Linked DNA regions of Homo sapiens: region 1 is linked to region 2. Evidence: promoter capture Hi-C in human tissues and cell types (Jung and others, 2019). All regions are on one chromosome and are shown on one strand. The core of a region is centred on a gene start or on the middle of the fragment in contact, and the rest is flanking DNA. Distances in the headings are between cores, read along the strand shown. Region 1 overlaps ANXA4 (annexin A4). Region 2 holds the start of GMCL1 (germ cell-less 1, spermatogenesis associated).

The links. The method cuts DNA at HindIII sites, captures the fragments that hold promoters and counts their contacts. A contact is called where the count stands out against the background at its distance.
Region 1: a fragment that was not itself captured here is called in contact with the fragment with the promoter of GMCL1 in region 2 in 1 of the 25 tissues and cell types used here (aorta).

The regions. Positions count from the first base shown.
Region 1 is chr2:69,787,904-69,792,796 of GRCh38, reverse strand. It overlaps ANXA4 (annexin A4), which reads right to left. Exons shown (of 13, transcript NM_001153.5): 3 at 4,656-4,743. It overlaps SMANTIS (SMARCA4 interacting SWI/SNF chromatin remodeling complex scaffold lncRNA), which reads left to right. Exons shown (of 3, transcript NR_164155.1): 2 at 2,361-2,532; 3 at 2,871-3,248. Among named protein-coding and RNA genes, the nearest start is that of SMANTIS, 8.6 kb to the left of the region's middle. The HindIII fragment of the contact is 4,638 bases long and covers 59-4,696 here.
Region 2 is chr2:69,827,488-69,831,802 of GRCh38, reverse strand. It overlaps GMCL1 (germ cell-less 1, spermatogenesis associated), which reads right to left and starts at 2,143. Exons shown (of 14, transcript NM_178439.5): 1 at 1,651-2,143. The coding sequence starts at 1,910. It overlaps LOC124906021 (a long non-coding RNA gene), which reads left to right and starts at 2,272. Exons shown (of 2, transcript XR_007086846.1): 1 at 2,272-3,789. RefSeq lists silencers at 1,479-1,654, 1,602-1,681, 2,062-2,291 and enhancers at 1,265-2,185, 2,702-2,791, 2,186-3,107. The HindIII fragment of the contact is 8,350 bases long and covers 1-4,315 here.

The DNA of each region.
Region 1 (4,893 bases), core at 1,128-3,627, 39 kb after region 2:
AAATTACTAAAAGTTACCATTATAACATGTGATTGAAACTACTGAACATGGAATTACATGGAAAGTGTGTAAAAACAGTAAAAGATGTTTTTATTTAAAGATTATAAGAGGGCATGGAAATGTATATTTTGCTTAGAAATAAAGAATTGTCTTAAAGTAGAAGGTTTAAGCAAATTGTAAAAAAAAACTGTAAAAATCTTGCAAAAAAAAACACTGCGTGTAAACATATTAACTAAATGCAAAAGGGCATTATATGGTTTTTTTCTGTAAATTAATCACTGAAATAAAAGCACAGCAAGGTTTTCTTAAAATGCTAATCTACTCTTTAGCAAAACTTGTCAAGGGTTATAACAGGTATGTGAAAATCTCACTTCATGGTCAAACTGGTTAAAATTAAATAGGATTGTCTATAATGTTTCATTTAAAATTAAGTTTAACATTAATAGCAAACTAATGCAAGGGTAAAATTTAACTTTCTCTCTTAACACGGGATTTTCATGGAATAGAAAAGGCTAATGAATGGTTTTTGCTTTTTCAAATTTCTGGCTCAACATTTTGGCAAAAACAAAAACTTTTGGTAATCTAAAATTCTATTTCATAATATCAAGTGTTTTAAATTTTAAATATACTTAACAGGCTTCCCAAAGTCAAACTTTAGTCTCAAGTCTGTCTTTCCTAACCCCTGGCTTTTGGGTGCTGCAGAGGACCCCTGAAGCATCTAGAAGAGAGGTAAACAGTATTATTTAACATGTTGAGGTACATAAAATTGCCAAAATGATGTCTAATACTCTTCAGGTTATACTTTAGGGAATAATATTAACATGTGTTCCAAAACTGTATGGGATGTCTATGGTTCTAGTGTCTGAATATGTGCTATTACAATTAAGGTTGTTATGCTGGGTTTTTGAAAAACACAAAAATAACCAAATTTCTTTGTCAATTGTATTTCTGACTGTATCCAAACTGGACATTTTGTCATTTACAGACAATTGTTGTTTTGTTTTAATTCTCTTCAAAAGATGGTTCATAATCAAGCCATGGGACTTTAACAAGTTCTCTCCAATGCAGGTTTGTCATGACCAAAAAATGTATGGGACTCATAAAAGGCTAAAATGTTTATAAATATCAAAACAAAAGTTAATGGAATGAACTGAACTAATAGAAAACTAAAGCAATATTCTTCACTTATTCTTAGAACACGGCTAATCCTTATTTTATTTTTTAGAGTCAAAAAAACTTGTCTTAAGCTAGCTACAGCCTTTGATAACTAAGCAAAGTGTACTACTATAGGCAAAGTTTGGAGCATGTTTATGTCTCTCTGCCTAATTCCTGTAGAATTTGGAAACTAGTTATAAATATTCTTAAATTACAACAATATAGTTGTTTGAATCAGTGCAGCAAGAATCCATTTTCTCTTGCAACAAAACACAATTGGAAAAACTGGTTGTTTTACCAAGGCTTTGACTAGAAGGGTATATTTCCCTTTAAGGAATCAAGCTTAACTTGCTGAGCCAATAAAAGCCCCTGGGGAAAACTGGCCTCATATCTGTCTACACAGTCTCCATACAGGGTTCCTGACCTGCAGTGAGTAAAGAATGTCACTTTCTAACAGGCCTAGGAACCCCATGCTTCTGGAACCTCAAGAAGGAAAAAAATTTATCCAACTCACAGGTATTTAAAAGTACAAACCTATGGCTGGGCTTGGCTTTAAAAAGTCCTATCTAAAATTCCTCATGGAACAAGGTTCCATCAAAGCCAATCTAAGAGGCTTATGTAAGGATGATTATTCTTGCTGTACTTTATGCAAATAATTAGGCCAAGTATAGGACTGAAGTCTGTTTTGCAAACAACTCAGTCCTATCATAGATTATTTTTAACAAAAATGAGGACTAGAGAAAGAGAAATTATGTTTTAAGACTTATCATACATCTGTTATTAACCTGTAGTCCCATCAGTTGTTTTTAAGTTCTTGCCTACATTTTAAACTAACCCTGCTTACTCCTGTCAACCAACCAGGAATCTCTGGCTGCAGCTCAGAGAAAACAGAAAGGCATCGGTAATAGAAAAATCTGGAAACATGTTCTAGTTCTGGGCAATTATCCTACAAATCCTGCCAGGTAAACTAGAACCCCAGGGTTTCTCCCTTTTTTGGGAAAGTAAGACCAAGGAAGCTAAACAAAGCCAAGCCCCATATACCCACTTACAGCAGCACAACCCATCTGAATGGCTCACAGGTATCAAACAAACTCTGTTGTCATGGTTACGGCCTATAGTGCCCCCATTAATAATAGTAATCTTAATACTCATATTTAGAACCTATATTCTAAACCTCCTTGTGAAGTTTATCTCTTCTCGCTTAGAAACCATCAAGCTTCAGATGGTGCTGAAAATGGAGCCGAAAATGAAACTGCCCTCCTACGAGGGACCCTTAAATCAACCCCAGGAGGAGCCCTAGCTGCTGTTCCCCACACAACGCCACTCTCCAGCAGGAAGTAGCCAGAAGAAATCGTCACCCAGTTTCCCCTAGCAGCAGTTATGGATTTCATTCCTGAGGGGGGAAATATGTTATAGGAGGCAGAAAGAAATGATTTAGGTAGACATTTAGGGTAAAGTGAGTCCCCAGCAGAAAACTTTCCTTTTAACAAAAAGCAGCTCAAAAATAGCTCCCTTTCTAACCTCATGCAGTTCAAAAAAAAAGCACTTCTCTTCTAACAACAAGCAGCCTGAAAGTTCAGGCTGTAAAACACAGAGAAGATGGCTTGAGCACAGAAAGGGAGGGGGAAGTCTCCTGGGTAATCACCAAACTTCACATTTACACAGTGGGCCCCAGTAAAACAGTGGGTCTTAATAAGCATATTCCTTCCCTTTAGGCGCAGTAAGATTGAGGAGCTAAAAACAGACTTGGGTGGATGTCTGCAGCTGCAAGAAGATGTGTGGGAACAGACACAGAAACTCTCCCTCCCAGATAAGCAAGACAAAGAAACACAGAATAAGAGTCCATCTATGTGGTCAGAGAATGGGATAAGAGCTGATTTAAAAAAACTCTGCTCTATATAGAAGGCACACCTGGTCCCAACCAAACCACTGGACCCTAGGAGGATAAGACCTCCTCTGCTCATGAGCCCCCTCCTCAGTAGCCCATTTATAAAAACCCTGACAATTTTACTACCACTTGGCAACCCGCTCGGGACCCCTCTCTGTGATGGAGAGCTGTTCTTTTCTTTTGCCTATTAAACTCCTGCTCCAAACTCACTGTGTGTGTGTCTGTCTGCAACCTCAATCTCCTTGGCCATGACACCAAAAACCTTAGTATTTACCCCAGACAACAAGGCTGCTTCACCAGCCTTCTCACATTAAATTCCACACATTGCATGTCGGTGCTGTCACAGCTGTGTCTATCACCACAGCAACAAGCAGACGGACTCAAGGCAAGAATGTGGACTTAGTGCTGATGACCCCGAGCTTGAGATGGGATCTGCCTAGTGTGAGCCATGGCTCAGTTTCACTCACTGTGCGACTTGGTGAGAGTTACTCGGCCTCTCTGGGTCTCAGTTTCACATCTGTAAAATGGGGCTAAAATAACAATAGGAATAGCTGCTTTCACTAAATCACAGGTTGTTGCATATATCCAATGAGATAATGTCTGTGAAACTGCTTTGTAAATCTGTGGCACCATATACACACCAGCACTAATTGGAAAACAAATACATTTCTAAAATTTAATATGCAGATTCATGATGTCGTAATTCAAAGCAGGTTTAAACAATAGGGGAAATCCATAATGAGTATATTAAATTTATCATTCTTTATTAAAGTGAAGAACTAATGCCCCTCCCCATCCAGTTTGTCCCAACTTATCTCAACTTGTTCCATGTGTTTTCTTTCCCTCCCTCCCTCCCTCTCCTCCTTCTTTCCTTCCTTCTTCCCTTCTTTCCCTCTTTCTTTTTTTTTTTTTTTTTGAGATGGAGTCTCGCTCTGTCGCCCAGCCTGGAGTGCAGTGGTGCAATCTCAGCTCACTGCAAGCTCCACCTCCCGGGTTCACGCCATTCTCCTGCCTCAGCCTCCTGAGTAGCTGGGACTACAGGCGCCCGCCACCACGCCCAGCTAATTTTTTTGTATTTTTAGTAGAGACGGGGTTTCACCGTGTTAGCCAGGATGGTCTCGATCTCCTGACCTCGTGATCCACCCGCCTCAGCCTCCCAAAGTGCTGGGATTACAGGCGTGAGCCACCGTGCCCAGCCTCTTTCTTTCTTTTTTGAGATGGAGTCTCACTCTGTCTCCCAGGCTGGAGTGCCATGGCGAGATCTCAGCTCACTGCAACCTCCACCTCCTGGGTTCAAGTGATTCTCCTGCCTCAGCCTCCCAAGTAGCTGGGATTACAGGTGTGTGCCACCACGCTTGGCTAATTTTTTTATTTTTAGTCTAGATGGGGTCTTGTCATGTTGGCCAGGCTTGTCTCGAACTTGTGGCCTCAAGTGATCTGCCCACCTCAGCCTCCCAAAGTGCTGAGATGACAGGCATGAGCCCCACACCCAGCCTCCCTTGTGTTTTATTAAAGGAAGACCCACGTGATGGCCAGCAGACATGGCACCCTCCTGTGTGACCCTGTGATGTGCAATGCACGCAGGAGGATTCACTTCCAGCAGGACACATACCGAGCCCTTTCATGGCCTTCCTCAGGGTCTGGGCATCTTCCATGGCATTGAATCCTGAAGCAGCTTTGACAGTACCTCCTTTGGTTGCCTGAGCACACAAGAGAGTGATGTTACTGAGAGGCAGCCTCTCACCAACACGGAGGCATCTCATTCGGCAAACATTTGTTGAGCACTGACCATAGCCTAGATGGTATTCTAGGTGCTAGGGGTACAGTAGTGACCATGAAAAATTAAGCTC
Region 2 (4,315 bases), core at 894-3,393:
GTGAGACCTTGTTTCTACAAATAAAAAAATTAGCTGGGTGTGGTGGTGCATGCCTGTGGTCTCAGCTACACAGAAGGCTGAGGTGGGAGAATTGCCTGATTCTGTGAGGTCGAGGTAGAGTGAGTCATGATCCCACCACTGCATTCCAGCCTGGGCGACACAGCGAGACCCTGTCTCAAAATAGAGAAAAATTTTTCCAAAGGAAAAAAAAACTATGCTACACTGACGCTTCAAAAAGGTTACAGGGTCAGGCATGGTGGCTCACACCTGTAATCTCAGCCCTTTGGGAGGCTTAGGTGGGAGGATCGCTTCAACCCAGGCGTTTGAGACCAGCCTGGGCAATATAGTGAGACTCCTTTAGAAAAAAGCTCCAAAAATCAAACAAACAATTAAAAAAGTTACTGAATAGTATTCACAGTAGGGGTACATTTTTGTATAATAAATACAAATATTCATACAAAAAAAGGTACAAAAGGTTTTATAAACCAAACTATTAAGTTTTTAATCTATGATTCCTTTTTTACAATATATAACACTTGTATAGCAAAACCTTTTTGAATCTGCTTTTAAAGTTTAATTTTAGGCCGGGTGCGCAGTGGCTCACGCCTATAATTCCAGCACTTTGGGAGGCTGAGGCCAGCAGATCACCTGAGGTCGGGAATTTGAGACAAGCCTGGCCAACACGATGAAACCTGTCTCTACTAAAAACAGAAAACATTAGCCAGGCGTGGTGGTGCGCGCCGGTAGTCCCAGCTACTCGGGAGGCTGAGGCACAAGAATCGCTTGAACCAGGAGGTGGAGGTTGCAGTGAGTTGAGATCGCACCACTGCACTCCGGCCTGAGTGACAGAGCAAGGCTCTGTCTCAAAAAGAAAAAGAAATCATTTAAAAAATTTCATGTGTGACCCTACCAAATAACCTTTAAAAACAAAAGCAGAAAAACCAAATTGTTTGTGTAAGCATATATTCTACCTATAAACTACATTCCAGGTCACAAGTCAATATTCCATCTTTCAACTCATCCAAAAAAAAAAAAAAAAGGGGTTAAACAAGCTGCAGCAGCACCGCCCTACATACAGTACATCCACGGTCAACGACTTCATCAACTACTAGAAACTTGCACAGACTCTGTTCCTAGTTAGGAACAAATGTACACTATTGATAAACTTCACCTTTACAATTAACAAGAACTCCTGTGTGCAATTACTTACCCTCCACTGAGTGGGCGACAATAAGAGTGCCTATTTCAGAGATTACATTTAGTGTCTGTACTAAGGCAACCGGATGCAAAACAACTTACTCTGCGGCTACCCACTTGAGAGGGCAAAGGTGGACTGGGAAGGCCAGCCAGCCGGGCGTCTCTAAGGTTTAACGAGACGCGAGCTCGGGCTTGGCGTTTCTCATCCTCATCTTGGGGCTGTAACAACACCCTGGAAGCGTCTGTGGTTGAAAATGCGGAACACCTGGCGTCTCCCAAGGCGCTCCCCAGTCCGCCCCGCATCGGGCCGGCTTCCACATTCACCCTGTCAAGGGCACGTCCCCTCTCCATAGGCTGGGGAGCGCTGCACCCCGCAAGCGCACGAGGCGCCGGCTCGGCCCCAGGCCCAACAGGTGCGGGTCCGGGTCCGCGCGGGTGCGTGCCCCCACGTACCTTCGAGGGGTGTTGAGGAGCCGCTGCTGCTCGTCCCCCTCCTCCTCATCCTCGTCCGTCTCCGAGTCAGGGTGACAGTAGCAGAAGGACCCGCTGCTCCGCTTGCGCTTGTGGCTGCCCGCACAGTAACAGAATCCGTGGCCCGCCGCATCGTCTCCAGTGTCCGGCCTCCGGGCCGAGCCCCCCGCCCTGGCACCCTGCGCCTGCTGGGCAAGGGCTGGTCTTGGCTGGCGCAGCACCCGGCTGCTCAACGATCCCATGGGTCACGGCTCCCCGAGACTTCAGGGAGCCCAGAGAAGGGGGTCTCCCGCCATGGCTCGGCCGCCGCCGCCAGCCTTCCCCGAGCGCAGGTGCCTACACCGCCACCTTCTCACGCGCAGCCCCAACCGTTGCAGCGGACGCCACAGTCTCCATCCTCTTCCCCGCCCGCAGCGTCCGGTCGCGCCGCGCTCTAGCACCGCAGCACCTCGCCCCCTCGCTTTCGCAACAAAGCGCGGGACGGAGGGCGCATGCGTACGGCGAGCCTCCGGAAGGGGCGGGGCAAGGCGTGCGTGCGTGGCAGGTGGAGCCTGCGCACAATCCGGCGCGCCAGTGCAGGCTGGTGTTTTCGGGCCTGCGGTGGGCGTGGCCTCTGACTAACCCGAACTTCGGCGTAGACGTAGTGTTAAACCGTGGTTCATACGCGCCTCTGTAGTGGCAAGACCTGGGACTCCAGTCACTCATTGTTTCTACAAAGGTGCCTTGAGTCCCCGGTGCTTATGGGCCTGTGCTAAGCTAGTGGCAAAACCCCGAAGCTATTTGGTCTCCTTGCGGGAGCTCGGCGCTTGCTGGGGCCACGCTCTGCTTGCTTGGGCGTGGCCTCCTGTGAGAGGGGGCCCTAGGATGAGGCGATATGCTGGATTCCTGGGCTTCCTTAACATGAGCCCTCCCCTGCTGTAGACGTGAATGGAACCCGTTAAGTTATGGGAACGTTCCCGGCACTCCTTTCCTTTCCTCTCAAGTGCCAGTGGGATGTCCGAATAGGGTCTGGCACCATGACTGTCTGGACTCAAAAGTGCCTTCAGGAGGCCCTAGCAAAATTTACTAGTGTCTGCTTGGAGTAGTAGCAGCTCTTGTGATGGACTCCGGACAGCCAGCGTTCATTCCCTGACTCCCTTCTGTTACTTTTTAAGTAAAATAATGAAAATATTTCAAATAGAGTAATACAGATTCCTGTGGACCGACCACTAGCTTGAAATTTTATCAGACTTGCTTTCATTCTTTTTTCCTCCCAGCTTTATTGAGGTGTAATCAATGATTCATTCTTTTTTAAATAGAACAATACATATAGGCAGAAGCCCCTGCGTACCTCCTCCATCTCATTCTGTCTCCCTCCCCAGTGGCAATCACTGTGCTGAGAATGTTGTATATCATGTCCATGCATGTCCTTATATGCATACCCATAAATAATATTTTCTTTTGCATGTTTAGACATATCATGGAATGGAATCATAGTTGTACCTCTCATTGTGCACCTTTCTCCTCTCTCAAAATTATACTCTCAAGATTTATCCATTTGGTCAATCGCTAGATAATTTTCACTGCTCATTGTATGACTGACCCATATTTGTTTTTACATTCCTTAGTGAGAGAGGTTATTTCTACTTTAACGGCCTTACAGAGCAGCAATGAACATCATGTGCAATGGATTCACCAAGCAGATTCCCAAAAGTGAATTTGCTGCGAAATCTGCAACTTTGTTAGCTATTACCAAATTGCTCTCTGGGTTGATTGCATCAAGGTACCAATTTAGACTCCCATTGGCAGTATACGTAGTTTGAGGGTCCCCGTGGACTAATGTCTGATTCATGCATGAGAAATCTGAACCGAGAGAGGCTAGCCGAGGCAGCTTGGGGTGGAGGTGGGAGGCGGAGAATAATGGCTGCAGAGGGATCAGCTTGCATACACAGAATTTGCCAGCACAAAGAACGTGCAGGTGTTTCCCATGGAGCAGATGTGGACCACCATGAGACAGCTTAGGTCCTGCCCAACAGGCCTGGGAGGAAGGCAATGAACTTCAGCACTGAGAACCTCAAAGAGTCACCAAATTCCTAGAGGCTGAAAAAGGAGTACACATTTGCCTTGCCAGAGGAACCTCAGGTGAGTAGCGTGATGAGGTTGACAAAGGAACCCACAAGAATGCCCACAAGAATCAACTTTAGTCTGTCAGGGTCACATAGGGCTGATCCTCTACCACCACAGCAATGACAGTCAGGTAACAACTTTCCTGCTCCCCTTAACTCTCTTCTTTGCTACAACCCAGACATGGTAGGTTGGGGCAGGGGGAGAACATTGAAGGAAACCTAGGTGGAAAAAGAAGAGAAGCCCATGGTCTCCCTTTCCCCAGAAACCAGCTTCCTACTTGCAATAGGCCAGAGGTGAGTGAGGGAAGAAGCATCAACTGTAAATCAAGCTTGCAATTTTGACTGGATATATTACTTACTAAAATGACACTGTTTTATGACCTTAAGGGACTACACAGTAGGACTTTAAAACCTAAGAGTGAACAGAAAAGTCATGACTCTATCTGAATTTACATCTGAAGAAGGGGAAGAACTGCCCACTGAATAAATGTAAGTGGACAGTGGGAGGGAAAAACAAACATAATTATATCTCAAAGTCATGC